Linked DNA regions of Homo sapiens: all the other regions are linked to region 1. The links are contacts of gene promoters, found by promoter capture Hi-C in human tissues and cell types (Jung and others, 2019). All regions are on one chromosome and are shown on one strand. Each heading gives the region's core, a stretch centred on a gene start or on the middle of the fragment in contact. The rest is flanking DNA. Distances are from core to core; before and after follow the strand shown.

The links. Contacts are between HindIII fragments. The study calls those that stand out against the background at their distance.
Region 2: a fragment that was not itself captured here is called in contact with the fragment with the promoter of LRIG3 in region 1 in 1 of the 25 tissues and cell types used here (mesendoderm cells).
Region 3: a fragment that was not itself captured here is called in contact with the fragment with the promoter of LRIG3 in region 1 in 2 of the 25 tissues and cell types used here (dorsolateral prefrontal cortex and mesenchymal stem cells).
Region 4: a contact is called between a fragment that was not itself captured here and the fragment with the promoter of LRIG3 in region 1, in 2 of the 25 tissues and cell types used here (bladder and dorsolateral prefrontal cortex).

The regions. Positions count from the first base shown.
Region 1 is chr12:58,918,917-58,921,866 of GRCh38, reverse strand. LRIG3 (leucine rich repeats and immunoglobulin like domains 3) reads left to right here and starts at 1,363. Exons shown (of 19, transcript NM_153377.5): 1 at 1,363-1,867. The coding sequence starts at 1,632. It overlaps LRIG3-DT (LRIG3 divergent transcript), which reads right to left and starts at 1,163. Exons shown (of 6, transcript NR_183518.1): 1 at 1,077-1,163; 2 at 395-468. RefSeq lists silencers at 479-588, 1,207-1,316, 1,737-1,816 and an enhancer at 2,197-2,466. The HindIII fragment of the contact is 9,447 bases long and covers 1-2,950 here.
Region 2 is chr12:58,425,334-58,428,283 of GRCh38, reverse strand. No RefSeq gene overlaps it. Among named protein-coding and RNA genes, the nearest start is that of LINC02403, 340 kb to the right of the region's middle. RefSeq lists enhancers at 1,871-1,990, 2,171-2,250, 2,255-2,950. The HindIII fragment of the contact is 3,948 bases long and covers 1-2,950 here.
Region 3 is chr12:58,549,544-58,552,493 of GRCh38, reverse strand. It overlaps LOC105369789 (a long non-coding RNA gene), which reads left to right. Exons shown (of 3, transcript XR_945007.3): 3 at 1,332-1,405. Among named protein-coding and RNA genes, the nearest start is that of LINC02388, 230 kb to the left of the region's middle. The HindIII fragment of the contact is 3,536 bases long and covers 1-2,950 here.
Region 4 is chr12:58,631,101-58,634,050 of GRCh38, reverse strand. The region is part of intron 1 of LINC02388 (long intergenic non-protein coding RNA 2388); the gene reads left to right. All of the region lies in intron 1 of LOC100506869 (a long non-coding RNA gene), which reads right to left. Among named protein-coding and RNA genes, the nearest start is that of LINC02388, 150 kb to the left of the region's middle. The HindIII fragment of the contact is 5,154 bases long and covers 1-2,950 here.

The DNA of each region.
Region 1 (2,950 bases), core at 114-2,613:
CCAAAAAGGTAGTAGCGTTGTTGTTAATGGTAGCTGGAAATAAGAAAATGGGATACCATATCTAAAATAGGGTGTGTTAACTTCAAAGTGAGTCTTTTCCTTCCCCCGTAAGTGGGAGTGATTTGCTACAGTGAAAAATCAATGGGCCTTAGAGTCAGGGTTAAAGTCTCAACTCCACAAGCTATCTCCACTCCTCAATCATGAGCAGTTTACGCAACTCCAAGGACAGACAAGCTTGGGCAGACAGCATGCAATAAACAATGTATAGAAGTGAAAACTTACTTTAAGCTTCCAGGGTTTGTTTTTTGGTTTGTTCATGTTTTCTGTCTTGCTTTTATTTTTATTTTTTTTGCAACAAACACATTAGTTACGTTCTCTAGGTCTATTTCCTTACCCAGAGGAGGAAGGCCCCTTAGCACATGATCTCTGCGGTCTCCATTAGTTTCAACATCTTGTGGCGCTGATCACCTGTAAGTTAAGGAACAAACTTCACTGGGAAGTCCTGTAGCCTGAATCCAGCCCCAAACATCCACTCCCCCAGCTGAGGAGGCCGGGAGGTACTTTTACCCTGGTAGCATTCTCAATCAACATGTGTCATTACTCAAAGCGCAAGTGGACCAAGGTGCATATACTAATTTTTTCCTCCAAGGTCTTAGTTTTCATTTTACTTTGAAATGTCACTGTGACTACTTTTATTATTACTATTACCAGGAATCTATGATTGCCATCGAGGTCTATTAGAAGGTCATCTCCCATCCCCCACCCCGCCCAGCTTTATCCAGTGCACGAAGGCTGGCTATTTGTAATTCAATATACACTTTCCAAAACCACGAGTTTTACGTTTTATTATTGTTTTTACTTTTGAAGCCGATGTATGGGGGAACACCCACCAGCATTAACGTTGAAAGAGCTGTTTTCATTGAAACCACTCTTTCATCTGTGGATGGTAGGATAATTTATCAGTGTCTTTAATTTGGAATTGAAAAGTTTCCTGAAAACACTGCTAATTAAACTTTACTTCCCTGAAGTTCTCCTAAATACCTCCAACTCCGAGAACTAGCCCAGTATTTGCTCACTTCCTTTTGCCTTTCAACTCCATTTGATATATGTTTCCCACGACGTAGTGGAGACTTCTGGCTGGAGAGGCTGGAAAATATAACTCTGAATTTCCTACAATCTCAGCTCCACTTTCTCCCGCGCGTAGGCCCCCGGCTGGAGCGGTGTTATTGTCACGTGGCCACGGGGACGCCCGCAGCCGAGTCGGCCAATGGGCGCGCGTCGGCCTCTACCCGCCCGCCTTGCTACTCCGCCGCGCGGGGACTTGGCGCAGTGCCGCGGGGTGGAGGCGAAAAAGTTTCTTTTGCAGACAAGAAGGGGCTTCGGCGAGCCGACGCTGCTCAAGCTGCAACTCTGTTGCAGTTGGCAGTTCTTTTCGGTTTCCCTCCTGCTGTTTGGGGGCATGAAAGGGCTTCGCCGCCGGGAGTAAAAGAAGGAATTGACCGGGCAGCGCGAGGGAGGAGCGCGCACGCGACCGCGAGGGCGGGCGTGCACCCTCGGCTGGAAGTTTGTGCCGGGCCCCGAGCGCGCGCCGGCTGGGAGCTTCGGGTAGAGACCTAGGCCGCTGGACCGCGATGAGCGCGCCGAGCCTCCGTGCGCGCGCCGCGGGGTTGGGGCTGCTGCTGTGCGCGGTGCTGGGGCGCGCTGGCCGGTCAGACAGCGGCGGTCGCGGGGAACTCGGGCAGCCCTCTGGGGTAGCCGCCGAGCGCCCATGCCCCACTACCTGCCGCTGCCTCGGGGACCTGCTGGACTGCAGTCGTAAGCGGCTAGCGCGTCTTCCCGAGCCACTCCCGTCCTGGGTCGCTCGGCTGTAAGTATTCTTCCCGCGGGGGGAGGGGGCCCGGGCCGCTGGAGATTCGAGAAAACAGGAGCCGGCGGGGAATGGGGTTCGGCGTGCAGTCCCCTTTTTGCCGTATAGCTCCTTCTGGCCCAGGCCGCGATCGGCGCTCCGTGGGCGTGGAAAAAGAACTGTCCGGGCCTCAGTTTCCCTCCCACGTGCTTTGCGGGCGGCGCAGGTGGGCTCTTGGCGCGTCCTAACTGGCTGCAGGTAGACCAGGGTTGGGGGCCAGTAACGACGCCAGAGATTGGGGATGAAGTCCTGCGCCCTAAGCTAGCCAAGGGGTTCAAATGCTTGCTCCTGCCAGGCCCAGGGGAGATAAGCGGCAACCTGCACACATCAGGAGTTTGCAGTTCTCGCTGAGTTATGAGTCTGGTTCAGTTTTAGTTTCTAGCTGCGTCAGACTCCTTTTCCTGTTCCCACCCAGTAACTGAAGTCAGGCTTTTCATTTGGGAAGCCCCCTCAACAGAATTCGGTCATTCTCCAAGTTATGGTGGACGTACTTCTGTTGTTCTCCCTCTGCTTGCTTTTTCACATTAGCAGACCGTAAGTTCCCACTCCTCAACCAGATTGTAAAGACTGGTCGGTAGCTATGGAAAGGGCGGAACTCGATTATCCAGAATCAAGGGCGTGATTTCTGTAGCTCCTCAGAACGCCCAGACGGTTTAGGGGAGAGCGCAGGGAGCTCTTATGCAAGTTTTTGGATTTTTAGCTGCGAAGTCTGAAAACCTGAAATCACTGCCAACTGCGTGAAGAACAAGGAAGAAAATGTAATTTAGTTGGAAATGCTGATCTTTTCCAAATGTCATCTCTTTTCTTCCTCAGTCCCAGTTTTAAAATTGGAGTGCTGTAAAAAGTAAACAATCAAAATTTGTATTTTTTAAAGTAGTTGTTCTGTTTAAAATAAAAGTGCACTTCATACGTAATCTTATATTTTGACTTAGCAGAATTGCAATGAAAATTTTAAGTTTTTAAAACAATTCTAGTGAACTATTCCAATGCCCTAATGTGGTAGGAGGTTTGGTCAGGTGTTTAAGAATTTATATTTTAAAATTA
Region 2 (2,950 bases), core at 307-2,806, 490 kb after region 1:
TAATGCCCTTCTTTGTCTTTTTGATCTTTGTTGATTTAACGTCTGTCTTATCGGAGACTAGGATTGAAACTCCTGTTTTTTTTTCTTTTGCTTTCCATTTGCTTGGTAAATATTTCTCCATCCCTTTATTTTGATCCTATGTGTGTCTTTGCACTTGAGATGGGTCTCCTGAATACAGCACACCAATGGGTCTTGACTCTTTATCCAATTTGCCAGTCTGTGTCTTTTAATTGGGGCATTTAGCCCATTCACATTTAAGGGTAATATTGTTATGTGTGAATTTGATCCTGTCATTATGATGCTACCTGGTTATTTTGCCCATTAGTTGATGCAGTTTCTTCATAGTGTTGATGATCTTTACAATTTGGTATGTTTTTGCAGTGGCTGGTATGGGTTTTTCCTTTGCATATTTAGTGCTTCCTTCAAGAGGAGCTCTTGTAAGGCAGGCCTGATGGTGACAACATCTTTCAGCATTTGCCTGTCTGTAAAGGATTTCATTTCTCCTTCACTTATGAAGCTTAGTTTGGCTGGATATGAAATTCTGGCTTGAAAAATTCTTTTATATAAGAATGTTGAATATTGGCCCCCACTCTCTTCTAGCTTGTTAGGTTTCTGCAGAGAGATCCACTGTTAGTCTGATGAGCTTCCTTTTGTGGTAACCCGACCTTTCTCTGGCTGCCCTTAATATTTTTTCCTTCATTTCAAACTTGGCAAATCTGACTATTATGTGTCTTTGGGTTGCCCTTCTCAAGGAATATCCTTGTGGTGTTCTCTGTATTTCCTGAATTTGGATGTTGGCCTGTCTTCCTAGGTTGGGGAAGTTCTCCTGGATAATATCCTGAAGAGTGCTTTCCAACTTGGTTCCATTCTCCTTGTCACTTTCAGGTACACCAATCAAACATAGGTTTGGTCTTTTCACAAAGTCCCATATTTCTTGGAGGCTTTCTTCATTCCTTTTTATTCTTTTTTCTCTATTCTTGTCTTCACACTTTATTTCATTAAGTTGAACTTCAATCTCTGATATCCTTTCACCCACTTCACTGATTCAGCTATTGATACTTTGTATGCTTCACGAAGTTCTTGTGCTGTGTTTTTCAGCTCCTTCAGGTCATTTATGTTTTCTCTAAACTGGTTATTCTAGTTAGCAATTCCTCTAACCTTTTTTCAAGGTTCTTAGCTTCTTTGCATTGGGTTAGAACATGCTCCTTTAGCTCGGAGGAATTTGTTATTACCCACCTTCTGAAGCCTACTTCTGTCAATTCATCAGACTCATTCTCCATCCAGTTTTGTCCCCTTGCTGGTGAGGAGTTGTGATCCTTTGGAGGAGAAGAGGCGTTCTGCTTTTTGGAATTTTCACCCTTTTTGTGCTGGTTTTTCCTCATCTTCGTGGTTTTATCTACCTTTGGTTTTTCATGTTAGTGACCTTCAGATGGGGTTTCCGTGTGGACGTCCTTTTTCTTTATGTTTATGCTATTCCTTTCTATTTGTTAATTTTCCTTCTAACAGGCCCCTCTGATACAGGTCTGCTGGAGTTTGCTGGAGGTCCACTCCAGACCCTGTTTGCCTGGGTATCACTAGCAGAGGCTGCCAAACAGCAAAGATTGCTGCCTGTTCCTTCCTCTGGAAGCTTCGTCCCCCAGAGGGGCACCCACAAGATGCCAGCTGGAGCTCTCCTGTATGAGATGTCTGTCGACCCCTGCTGGGAGATGTCTCCCAGTCAGGAGGCATGGGGGTCAGGGACCCACTTGAGGAGGCAGTCTGTCCCTTAGCAGAGCTCAAGGGCTGTGCTGAGAGATCCTCTGCTTTCTTTAGAGCCAATGGGCAGGAATGTTTAAGTCTGCTGAAGCTGTGCCCACAGCCGCCCCTTTCCCCAGGTGTTCTGTCCCAGGGAGATGGGAGTTTTATCTATAAGCCCCTGACTGGGGCTGCTGCCTTTCTTTCAGAGATGCCCTGCCCAGAGAGGAGGAATCTAGAGAGGCAGTGTGGCTACAGAGGCTTTGTGGAGCTGCGGTGGGCTCCGCCCAGTTCGAACTTCCTGGCAGCTTTGTTTACACTCAGTTGGAAATGCAGAAATCACAGGCCTTCTGTGTTGATTTCACTGGGAACTGCAGACCAGAGCTGTTCCTATTCAGCCATACAGAGTCTCCCTCTTGGCAGCTCTTCAGAATAGAAGCCATGTCTCAGGCAGCAATGTGGCCAGATAGAAAGTTGGTGTTTCCTGTGCAAAAGAGTTAATCTTTGCAAGTGTGGTTCTGAGAAGTTGGTGGGAGACCCTATCTCTGCCAGTCATGGCAAAATACAGTCTGGGCAGGTTTCCAAGTTCAGCTGACATTCCTAAGCCAATGAGAAGTGTCCAAGATGGTTTCCAGCTTTCTCTCCAAGGGTAAGAGTTGAATGTGTTGACTGACCTTTACCAGCACGAACACATTTGCCATTTGACTCTGAGGAATAAATGGGTGACCTGACTGTGGGCACAGAGCTGAAGGCTGATTCTCCAGAAAACTCACCATCAGTTTGCTCAGCAACGCTGCTGACTCGGAACACATTTTGTTTTTTCTTTTTGAAACTGCACCATGCATTCTTGAAAGCATGACTCAACCTTACCAGCAGTCTCAGTGAGCTTGAAATGGCCTCAACTAGAGGATTTATAGCCTTTGCAAACACAGGGCACATTTCTTTGTTTCCTTTCAGAAACTGAGAAGTGATTCATTTTCAGTAAACAAAGAGAGGATTACCAACACATTTACTAGTCTGAAATTCAGCTTCCATTGAATGCAATTCCTTTAGTTCCTAGTAAAGGCATTGTGCATTTCAAACAGCTATCTTTCTTCTTTAATCCACTTTCTTTCTTCCTAGTGTGGAAAAGATATATAATTTAGCCCTCACTCAAATACAAATAAGATGAGTTTCAAAGGCCATTCAGGCCCTAATGTGTGTCCTTTGCAAGAAC
Region 3 (2,950 bases), core at 337-2,836, 370 kb after region 1:
TACAGATTCCTATTGGCACAGCTTTTGTTCAGACTACGATGCTCTGACAAATTAGCCCAGGAAAACAGGGCAGGAAAAAACTGTCTTTACTTCTGCTTGTTATTGTCTTTAATATTACCAGAACATTTATTGTTCCATATGCTCCTGGCTCTTTGCTCCTCATTAAAGAATGGGATCTGCATAGATTATTCAATGGTAAACACCTAACTAGATTGTAAACTGTCTGGGTGAGGAGCTTGTTTTAAATTCCCACAGCACTCAGCATACTTCTGGGCATGAAAATGCTCAGTAATTCTTCTTTGATTGTATAGTACACATGTTGTTCAATATTAATATTCTATATTTGACCTCTGTTTCCCTGAGTGTCAAGGATCTGTACTAATTTTTGGCTAGTTCTGTCAATAACGATTTTTTTTTCATGAGTTTTGTAAATACAGCGGGAAAACCTTTAATAACTGTGGTTAATGGGTTATTATCTTGAGCTTTTCCTGTACACAGTATCAAATTGAAGGAGATAAGGCCTTTTAGCAAACTCAAATCCTTGTAATAATACTTCACATTGTCAAAATAGCAATTTCTATTTCAGCACATTTAATGGTAAGAAACAATATTGATGAGTATGGTGTTGTTTGGGGTGGTGATTAATGCCTTCCACATGCTTAACCAGCTAGAATTTGCTAAATAATTTCTAATTTTCCTTTGCTTTCCATACTCTGCAAATTAAAATAAGGTGTTATTACTTGGGGTGGGGATGGGGGAAATCTCTTAGCCTTACTGTCTTTGCTTGTAAAGGAGGAATAGTAACACCTGCCCACCCTACCTCTCAGATTTGTCATGAGGGTCAAGTAGGATGATGCATGAGAAAATGATTTGTAAGCTGCAAAGCTTTGCACAAATTGAACTTGTTAGCATAATCTGGATTTTACATAGGTCAAAGCTTTATAAGGCAAAGATGCATTCTAAACTTGTAGGATGAACCATTTCTAAATCTTCAGCATGTACTGTGAACTATTTCTTCCAGTGCCACAGATCAATGATAATACTGCCTAGTCACTTATTTAATCTGACAGGAACCTAAACAAAAATAATTAAAAGCTGATCTACATACCACATATTCCTTATTGCTATATAGCACCTCACAAGCCAGTCAGAGATCAATTAATCAATGTTTTCCTCAATTATGGTCTGTCAGCAGATAAATCTACCAAACCAATCAAGGTTATTACAGGCCCATAGTTGTGCAGGAATGAATTTTGCAACTGCTGAGCCATTTCTCTTGAAAGGAAAGGGTGAGAAATGGTTGTTTTGCCTCATCTTTTCTGCAATAATAGGAAGTTTCCAACTCATGAAAGGGTGTTATTGACAGTCACAGTAAGACGTTTGGAATCCACATGTAAACTCTGTGATGAACATGGCCCCGCACAGAGGACCTGAGACATTTTGAGGAGGGCCTTCTACGTTTCTTCTCCCAGCACATGAGGCAAGTGAACCCCACTAGTGTAGTTCTCTGTCAGTAAGAAAGAGCACAAAGTCCTGTTTCTGAACTAACATAAAAGAATGGATAATATTGCCAGTAATCTTGGGAAGGCATGGGATTCAAAGGTGAATATTTTTGTATGTTTGTGCATTATTTGTTTTGATGTATAAGACAATAAGACAAGCCAGGCACAGTGGCTCACACCTGCAATCCCAGCACTTTGGGAGGCTGAGGCAGGCAGATTGCTGGAGTCCAAGAGTTTAAGACCAGCCTGGACAACATGGCAAGGCCCCATCTCTACAAAAAATATAAATAAATAAATAAATAAATAAATTAGCCAAGCATGGTGGCATATGCCTGTAGTCCCAGCTACTCAGGAGGCTGAGATTGGAGGATCACTTAAGCCCAGGAGTTGGAGGCTGCAGTGAACAAAGATTGTTTCACTGCACTGCAGCCCGGGTGACAGAGCCAGACTCTGTCGCAAAAAAAAAAAAAACATAGCTAAGAAAGATAAGACAGTTTTCATTAAGCATGGAAACCATTTCAACTTTAAATGCAAACTTTTAAGGAAGGAAAGATTTTACTATTTTCTTCCTCTGACAAATATCTTTTATTAACACATTTCATTATTAATAAATCCCACCACACTTAGTTTTATTTTTTGTTTTCTTTTCTCCTTCTCTGAAAAATAATATAATAAGGGGAGAAGCCCAGGGACCTGACTGCTCAGCCAGACCTGGCCTTCACTGCACTGGACTCCCTAGCAACATGGGGCTCTTCAAGGCTTGTTTTCCCTTTGGGAATATAAGAAGCTTAGTGTACAAGGAACCTCTTCATTGGAAGCTTATCCAAAATAAGTTTTAATTTCTAAGTTTGCAGGCAGTGGATCCTGGGTAACTGTCATGGATTCAGCGGACCCTAGAAGAGTTGAAATCATGAGTTCCCTACTTCTCCCTCTCCTTTTTCAGCCTATCCCTTTTTCCCAGATAATTTAATCTGTTATAATTTACAGCTAGAAATAGATTAAGGTTGTGCTTCCATCAGTGACTTCTCCAAACTTTAAAAAGTATCAATATCTGGGTCCCACTCCCATATATCTAGCTGCTTTGAGGTGAGGCCTGGAAAGCAATATTTTTTAGAAACCCCCCACATAATTTCAATGTATGGCCAGGGTTGAGAACCACAGATTAGAATGTAACACGTAATGGATCCTGGAAAAATTACCTTTGCCTGGGAAAAGCTTTGATTTATGGGGATTCAGGCCTATATTGTAAATTAGTGCATTGCCACGTGTTTTTAGGAAATGTGCTTGAGTTTCCCAAATGTTGCAGGTATGGACTTTGCATTGAGGAGGTCCTCTGCATCTTGTTGCCCCTGTGGAACTTTGGAAAAGCGAAGTATATGAAAGAGTTGGAGTAAAATTAATCTACTTTCAGAGATTCAGAAGGAACTACAGATGCACCCATGGGTGCC
Region 4 (2,950 bases), core at 143-2,642, 290 kb after region 1:
TACAGAGATTCCATACTTCTCCCTCGCTTCACATTTTATGCTATTGATATCATACTCTACATTTATTTATGTTTTGCATCTGTTAACCAATTTTTTATAGCTATAGTTGTTTTTAAAACATTTGTCTTTTAACTTTTATACTAGACTTAAGAGGGATTTACCCATTAGCTTTACAGTATGAGGGTGTTGTGAAGTTGACCATGTATTTACTTTTAGCAGTTAGCTTTATACTTTCATGTTTTCATATTGTTTTTTATTATCCTTTCATTTCAACTCAAAGAACTCCCTTTAGCATTTTTTGTAAGGCCAATCTTGTGGTAATGAATTCTTTCAGCTTTTGTTTGTTCCTGCAATGTCTTTATCTCTCCTTCCTTTCTGAAGGATAGCTTTTTGAATAAGTCATCCCACTCCTTCCTGACTTGCAAGATTTCTGTTGAGATATTCATTTATGGCCTTACAGAGATTCTTTACATGTGATGAGTTTCTTCTCTCTTGTGGCTTTCAAGATTCTCTTTTTGATTTTGACTTTGACAATTAGATTATAACATATATTGGAATATTCCTTTTTCTCTTGATCTTACTTGAGATCTTTTCAACTTCCTGAATCTGTATGTCTGTATCCCTCCCAATATTTGGAAAGCTTGCAGAGAGTAATTATTTAAATAATCTTTCTGCTCCTTTCTCTTTCTCTTCCCCTTCTGGTACCTCCATAATTTATATATTTGTATGTTTGATGATGTCCTGTATGTCCCTTATGTTTTCTTCACTCTTTTTCAGTTTTTTTCTTTTAGTTTCTTTAATTGTCTAATTTCAACTGAATTGTCTTCAAGTTCACTAATTATTTTTTCTGCATGATCAAGCCTGCTGTTAAAATTTTCTATTGAATCTTTTAGTCCTGTCATTGCATTGTCCAGGATTTCTGTTTGGGTCTTTTTTATGCTTTCTTTTCCTTTATTAAACTTATTTTGCTCAGGTATTGTTTTTCTGTCTGTATTTTGTTGCTTCTCATTGAGCTTCTTTAAAATTATTATTTTGAATTCTTTTTCAGGTAAATTTTATATCTCCATTTCTTTGGAGCTGATTATTGAAACTGTATTAGTTTCCCTTGGTGGTGTCATGCTTGCCCAATTCTTTATTATCTGCAAAGCCTTCCATTAGTACCAGTGCACTTGAAGGGGCAAGTCCCCTTTTCAATCTTTACAGACTGGTTTTAGCAAGTTAAAATCTTCTCCTGTTAGGTCTCCCAGCTGATAAGATTACCTCTGGGATTGCCATTGAGTGGGATTGGATCAGGTCTCATGACTGATGCTGAGTCTTCATTGGAAAGCCTGTTACCAGGGATTCTAGTGGGCATGGGCCTCTATGTCCCTGAGTAGACTGAATTGTCTTCAGGACCTGGTCTGTGTGGCTGGCATTGAGATAAAGGTCAACTTTAGGGTTTGCAGATGCCAGGTCTGTTACCATATGTACTGAGGGGTGTGGCTTCCCTTCAAATAGGAGAGATCTCACTGGATCACTGGATGGGTTCCATAGTTAAGATGTTCTGAACTGAGATACAAGGTTATTTCAGGGTCCACCATCAATACCAAATCTTTAGGCCTGTCTCCAGGGTCATGAATTGGTATGTCTCCCAGTGATTTTCTGGGTGAGCAGGCCAGTTCTTAGACTGCAGCTGAGGAGGACTGGAGTCAATTTATAGGGTTATTTCAAGATCTACAGTGAGACCAAGTTCAGGGTGTCACTATGCAGGGGCCCTACAGGGTGTGCTTCCTTCTGGTTCTCCAGGCAAATGGAACTACTCTTATCTTCAAGACAGAAAGGGCCAGAAATGAAATCCAGGATCATTTGAGGATCTACTCTGGGAAAGAAATTGGCAAACCTGTCACAGGGATTCAGAGGGGCTTGTCTCCCAGAGGGAGCTGTACTTGGAAGAGCTGTTTCCAGAACACAGCCAGGAGGGGCTACAATCAAGCTTCTGAGTTATTTCAGAATCTGCTATGGGATCGATGTTGGCAAGCCTGACTCAGTGACACCAATGTGTGAGACTTCCAGCATAAGGACAGAGTTACTCCCAGACCTCAGCTCAGAGGGGCCAGAGCTGAGATTCAAGGCCTCTTCAGGAACTGCTCTGGGACAGGCTGGCAAGCCTGGCCAGGATAGTAGTCCCTGCATAAGAAAATTAACTCTGGGGATGTGGCAGGGTGGCTGGGGCCAAGAGAGGGTCATTTCAGGATCTACTATAGGACAGAGGCCAGCAAGCCCGTCCTGGTGCATCAGGTAGGCAAATCTCCTTCTTGGTCTATGCGCAAGCAGTACAAAGCTGGGACCACAGCTCAGGAGGGCTGTAGCCTATTTACAGGGTAACTTTCAGGTCCACTGCAGAGACAGATGTCAGCAAGAAGACAGGCCTGTCTCTCAAGGAACTAGCGTGTGTGATTCTTCCCAGATCCCTTAGCAGATGGTTTTGGTAGTTGTCTCAAGGCCAAATGGGGCTGTAGCCAAACTCTTTGGAAAATGAGGTTGTTTCTGGGTCCAAAATTGGGAGCATAACTGGAGGGCCTGCCACCTAGGTGCAGATCTGCACTCTCAAACCAATCCTCTTAGATCTTTGGCTCAAAAGAGAAGTTTTACAACCCCGTACATGAATCCCAAATCTCCCACAAAGAGACTTTTGTTTGTAGATGGGTGCAGAATTCATGTTGCCCTGGGGGGATACAAGGGGGTAACCTCCTATTCCACCATCTTGCTGATATCACTGATTTATTAATAAAATGTTAAACAGCTGAAAAAACTTAGACACAGGGAGATAAAGTAACTTGCCTAAGGTCACGCAACTGATAGGTGGAAGTAGTGGGATCTAAACCTAGGTGGTCAGACTTTCATATGCACACTGTTGATCATTACATTCGACTGTTTCTCAGGCTTAGTTTTTAGGAATGAGACTTCTAAG